Regions from separate parts of the Homo sapiens genome. Here region 1 is linked to region 2. Evidence: promoter capture Hi-C in 16 types of primary human blood cells and fetal thymus (Javierre and others, 2016). All regions are on one chromosome and are shown on one strand. The core of a region is centred on a gene start or on the middle of the fragment in contact, and the rest is flanking DNA. Distances in the headings are between cores, read along the strand shown.

Evidence for each region. Contacts are between HindIII fragments. The CHiCAGO score rates a contact against its expected background, and 5 or more counts as called.
Region 1: the fragment with the promoter of CLEC5A here is called in contact with the fragment with the promoter of PRSS37 in region 2 in 5 of 17 cell types (monocytes, naive CD8 T cells, megakaryocytes and 2 more); the score reaches 9.3 in monocytes.

What each region holds. Positions count from the first base shown.
Region 1 is chr7:141,945,554-141,948,355 of GRCh38, forward strand. CLEC5A (C-type lectin domain containing 5A) reads right to left here and starts at 1,421. Exons shown (of 7, transcript NM_013252.3): 1 at 1,254-1,421; 2 at 661-759. The coding sequence starts at 739. RefSeq lists an enhancer at 1-1,102. The HindIII fragment of the contact is 3,527 bases long and covers 412-2,802 here.
Region 2 is chr7:141,840,188-141,843,077 of GRCh38, forward strand. It overlaps PRSS37 (serine protease 37), which reads right to left and starts at 1,298. Exons shown (of 5, transcript NM_001008270.3): 1 at 829-1,298. The coding sequence starts at 862. The HindIII fragment of the contact is 13,045 bases long and covers 1-2,890 here.

The DNA of each region.
Region 1 (2,802 bases), core at 171-2,670, 110 kb after region 2:
GTGAATACGTTCCCTTATTCATATTTCTGTCCTGCTGTCTGACATGATAGGAATTGCACCTTCAGATTGCATCATGAGGAAGACACCTCTTAGCTAACTACTGCCTCCCACTCACGTTTCCTTCCTCATTTATTTTCCCTACTGGCTTCTGGGGCTAGAGAAGATTCTAGTTTCTGATTGCAGTAAAATCCTTTCATAGGAGGCTTCTTTAACTAGGCATTTGGATGAATTAATTTATATGTATACAAAGAGAAATTTCTTTCTCAGTTAAATCCTGTTACATTATACTTCAGCTCTTACCATGGCCTTGTCATTGGGTTGAACTGGAGCTGTATTTTAGATTTTGCCAACAATAACAAGCGCTGCCAAGTACTTCAGCTGAGATCACCCAAATAATACTCTACTAGCAAAAGCTTTGCGTGGCGTTCTAACCATCAGAAACTGGTAAGTTCTATATCTCCAAGGTAGACCAAGGAGCCTGGGCCACTGTGTGTGCTGGGGAGTGAGAAAGGCATTGCCAATTGACCTCAGGTTGGGTCAGTTAGTCTCAGGTGGAAAGACTTGGATATGTAACCTTTACACACAACCATGCATTCTGAGAGAAGAGTCAATGAGCAAGACAACATGAAGTCTGGGGCAAGAGGTTGCTCAAATACTCACAATAAAGTAGAAATAAGGTCATTCCAACAACTTTAAGCACTACCACAATAAGCCCAGAGATGATCATGTGCCAGTTCATGATGAAGGAGCTGCAGGGGCCTGTGAAGATTAGAGCACAGCAGCATCAGAATTCGGGTACAAGGCTGCTTTTCACTAGGACATATCCCAGCCTCTCGCTCAGAGTACCCAAAGCAAGGCAGGCTTGGAAGACAGGCATGACATTGACAGGTACCAGGAGGTGACCCAGCGTGGGCCGCGAACACAGAAAGAATCATGTATTGATTGGAGCCTTGGAACTTGGCATACTGCCTCTCCTTCACTCATTCCCTACTCCAGGCCTCAGCCTTGCCCTATTTGTGGCCTCCTAAATTCTGTCTAATAATTAAACCCTCTCCTGTATTTTGAGAACCCTTATCCTTGAAATGACCCTTGTTCCCAAGGACCTTAGTCTGTAGCCTTCACCATACTGACTTAAGTTGTCAGAAGCCTCAGTCTTCCAAATACCAGGGGTAGGTGACAGACAGGACAGGCATCCCTGAAGGTCTTGGCATTGGTCAACAGTCCATGCAGCCAAGACAGACAGACAGACTCACCTCTTTCTCCCTGGAAGGCTAGGCTTGCTTGCAGATGGGGGTCTTCCTGGTGGCCTAATGCTTGGTGTGGCAGGCAGGGGCCCCGTCTCCTGAGAATATGCTCCTTTTGCCCAAGCAACGTTCTTCCTTCTTCACAGTCTCTGCCTTGGTAGCATCCCCAAGAAATACCTCTTCCTGTTCAGTGGGGTTCTTGGCAAAGGGAGCAGGCGGGGCAAAGAAGGGAAGAGACTCTCTAGCCCTAGTGGTGGCAAGAGCAGACTTCCTGCCAGGAGAGTTCTAATGCAGAGGAACATTTTAAGGACAATTTGGAAAACAAAATACCTCAACACAGATTCACCCTTCCTCTGTGTCTAAATCTCCTTGAAATACAGTGGGAAGAGAAATGTAGTAAAATTTTAACAAACATTGAATCTGGATAAAAGGTAGCTGGAAGTTATTTGTACTTTCCTTACAACATTTCTGCAAGTCTGAAATTATGTCAAGTTAAAAATGTTAAGAAATCCAGTTGAAGACACTAATATGAATGAGCAGGTTCTTGCTGTTCCATTTGCTCCATTTGCTGGAGCTCTGCTCATTCCCCTTTATCATGGACTCCTCTCTGGCACCACCTGCTCACCTTCCAGACCTCATGGTGGCTCTTCAGTGTTTCTTGAACATGGCACTCTGCTGGATACAGCAGTGGGCTGGGGTGAACAATACTCAAGTCCTATTGTCAAGGAGTTTTTAATTTCGTGTTAAATTTGAAAATTTGCTTTTATTTTCCCTACTATGAAAACTACTGTGCTCATGACAAAAAAATGGCTGGAAAATATTAACAAGGAAAATTGAGAAAACAAAACCATTTATAACCTTGTACATTTAGTTATAGTCATTGCTAGCACCTCAGGGTGTATCCTTTCGAGATGAGTAGGTAGATAGAAAGATAGATGGATAGATAGATAGATAGACAGAAAAACACTGGTTCACAAAGAACAATGGGAACATATTGTACATATTGTTTTGCAATCTATCTGCTCAAGATTAAGCTAACACTATGTTATATATATCTTTTCATGTCAAAATATAGATTTTGATAATGTATTATTTAATATGTGCATAGCATTCAGGTGTAAAACTATATGATTTATTTATTCAGGTGTAAAAGTATATTATTTCTTTAACAATTGCATAACCACAAATCTTCTAGTAAAGTGTGGTGGACAAGAACAAAGTTTTAAAAATCAGTCCTGCTTTTGATTCCTGGAGCTGACCTTCACTAGCTGAACATCCTTGATTAAGTTACTGAGTCTCTTTACCTTCCATTTCTTTATCTATAAATAGGAGTAATTATAGTAAATACCACATAGGATTGTTCCGAGAAATGAGCAAGATAATGCTTGTAATTTCAATAGCGTGATACTCAGCATCTTAAACATAAATCCTTAGTATTCTAACTATTTTCTAAAACTCTTCTAACTATCTTCCCAATGCACAGTGAACAGCTAAGTGCATGCATCCTTTTACATGTCCTTAATAACTTTCTTGGGCTAAGTTATCAGAAATATAAATG
Region 2 (2,890 bases), core at 48-2,547:
TTTTTCTACTTTAAAAATGTCTAAATTTTGTAATATGAACATATATTGTTTTTATAAATGAATTATTTAAAACATACCCTAGAGAATAAAGGGGAGGAAGGCTGATTCTAGTATCAGAAATAAAGCCCTCTTCTTGTCTTGGCTTCTCTTGCTACTCCTGTTAACCTTCCCCAAGACTGGGTCTGTACCTCACCACACCCTTCTGTGTGATCACACAGTTAGAAACCCCAAAGAGAAAAGGGTAGACTGTAAACAAGGGCAAGAGACATTGAGCTCTCTATAGCAGGCATTGTTCTAAGTGCTTTACATAGATTTATTTAATCTTCACAATAGCTCTATAATATGGGTAGTCATACCCCCATTTTGAAGAAATTGAAGCACAGAAGAGTTAATTAACTTGGCTAATCTCACACAGCTAATGTGTGATACAACCTAGGCAGTCAGAGAATGGTGGGAAATGCCTCATCTGCAAATTCTGCTGTCAGAAGAACCCCATGTGGGGCAAGGACTACAGAAGGTAGGGTCCTAGTACTTGATCTTTTGTTTCTACTTCTCTGTTTTCTGCATTAGTGTCGGTGGGAGGACACTCACTGTTAAGCCTTCTCCAAGGCACATGTGTGCCTTAACCCACCCTATAGCTTAACACTAGAAAAGTGGGCTCAGCCTATCCGGAGAGCCTTTGGATGGAGTCTGAGAGGCAGGACTCCTAATTCTGCTGATGACACTATTTTTGACTCTTTTTCTGCACCCTTCGCAATCCTGCCTCTGTCTCACCCCATCCATTAAACTGTGCCTTACAGGACAGAGTACAAGGTCTTGAGTACATACCAGCGAGGACACCCAAATAGAAGACATATTTCATGGTGATCCAGCTCTTCCCCCTGTGAGATGTAGAAGAAAATCAGCAGAGTGTGGAGCGGTTGGCTTAGTTGTCTTCTCAGGAACACCTGGTAGACTCAGTGGCTATGGTTAGATACGGAGGCACTCCATGGGATTGGAAAGCAGCTCTGGGCATAAACAGGGGAGGGAGATGGCTTCAGAGAGACAGATGAAAGCCCTCTGTTCCAGGGAAGGTGGAGGACTGTGCCTCTGTTGGGGCATTTCAGGGAAGGAAACTCCTGGATTCAGCTCCTTCTATCTGCTGCCCCTAAAAACACATCTGTTTGAAGGTAGTTCAGTTGTCTGTGGAAATGGCAGCTCTAGGCTCAGGACTTATCTTCCCCACAGAGTTTCTGAGACCAGGGCTATGAGGGACAATATTCTTTACCTTAGCTCAGGGAGTAAGTGTCCTGAGGTTTGCTCTGAACCTCCTAATAGTTACTTATACTTTCCCCAGCCCCTCCCATCTTTGTTACACTAGCTTCATATGTCCCTCTGATCACTGTTTCATCACTCAGTCATCATCACCAACTTGGTGTTTTTTGTCCTGAGCAACAGCATTGAGCCAAGAAAATATGGAAATGAAAAGCATTCATAGAACAGTTATCTTGATAGTTGGGGAATTGTTTACAGTCTAGATGACATTAGGCCTGGTGACAATTCAGAAGGCAGTACCTCTAATACTTAAAGACTTAGACCAATATTAGACTACCAAAGTCATCCTTGGATAATTGGGAGCATAGTCTAACAAGAAAATGAGCGGTAACACTAATAGCTGATATCCTCTAAGCATTTACTGAATCCTAGGCACTGAGCTAAGATCTTTACGGACTTGTCAGTAGAGATTTTATATCAGGTTAGTCTGAGATGTAAAATTCACTACACTTTGTATCACTCTAACCCTTTAAAGTTTCTTAAACCCATAATCTCTTTCCAAATGTCACAACAACCCTAGAAAGAAGAGATAGGGCTGGGTCTGGTATCTATTTCTGGTCTGTGGGTGGCAGAACTGAAGCAGAGAGAATCTAAGTAGTTTTCCCAAAGTCACATGTCGTGGACAATGAGAAATAGGCCTTGTCACTGGTGTAGGGTTGCAGGTCCCCCACCAGGATACTTAAGGGTGTATGACCACTGCTTGAACCTTAATGGCTAAGTAGTGAGTCAAGGACACGGTGCCCAGCCAAGAAGCAGGTATCCTTGATGGCCAAGTGGTGAGTCAACGCCATGGTGTCCAGCTGAGGAGCAGGTGTCCTTGAGTACCCAAACATCCCAGAGAATACCTGAGAACCTATCAAGGAAAACAGTCCCATCATGCACACACAGTAGGCAAAGAGCCAGAAAATTAGCTTAAAAGCAGCTTAGAGATGGAAAGCAGGGCAGGTCTCTAAAGGTGTCCTCTGCTATCTAGGAGTGTCTCATATGTAAGTCCTAATAAACTTATCCACTGGCCAAGCTGGACTTGTCTGAGTCATTCTTTGGTCTCTTGGCTCCCTCCTAGTTTGGGGGAAAGGTTTTTTTAAAAATATGATTCTGGATTTTTCTTGTTACAATTGGCATCACAAATGGGGTCAGAGAGACCAAACTTCGAGCCAGGAATGAGTGTCTATGGTGGGGAATCCCTGGGCAGTCGGCAATGTCCATGTGGAGTGGAGTTGCCCAACTGCACAACTTTTGTGGGCCACTGCATGAGTACAGGGATGCTTGGAAAACATGGGCAAGGACTGAATACCTATTGCCAAGAAGCCAAGATATTAAAGTATGATAATGATAGTAAATGTGGTGTTATTGCAATAAGGCTGGCTAATCACAAATCATTAGAGCAGGAAAGGGAGAAAGGGTAGAAACTCCAGCAGAAGCTAAAAGGCATGGTTTTCTAATCCTCCAGCTGGTTACATATTATGGCCCTTTCTTGTGTACATTTTAAAACTGACGGGCAAATTACAACAAGAAAAATTCAGAGCTCAAATGTTTAATCTACAACTATAGAGTTAAGTAGAGTCTTCTAAAGCTC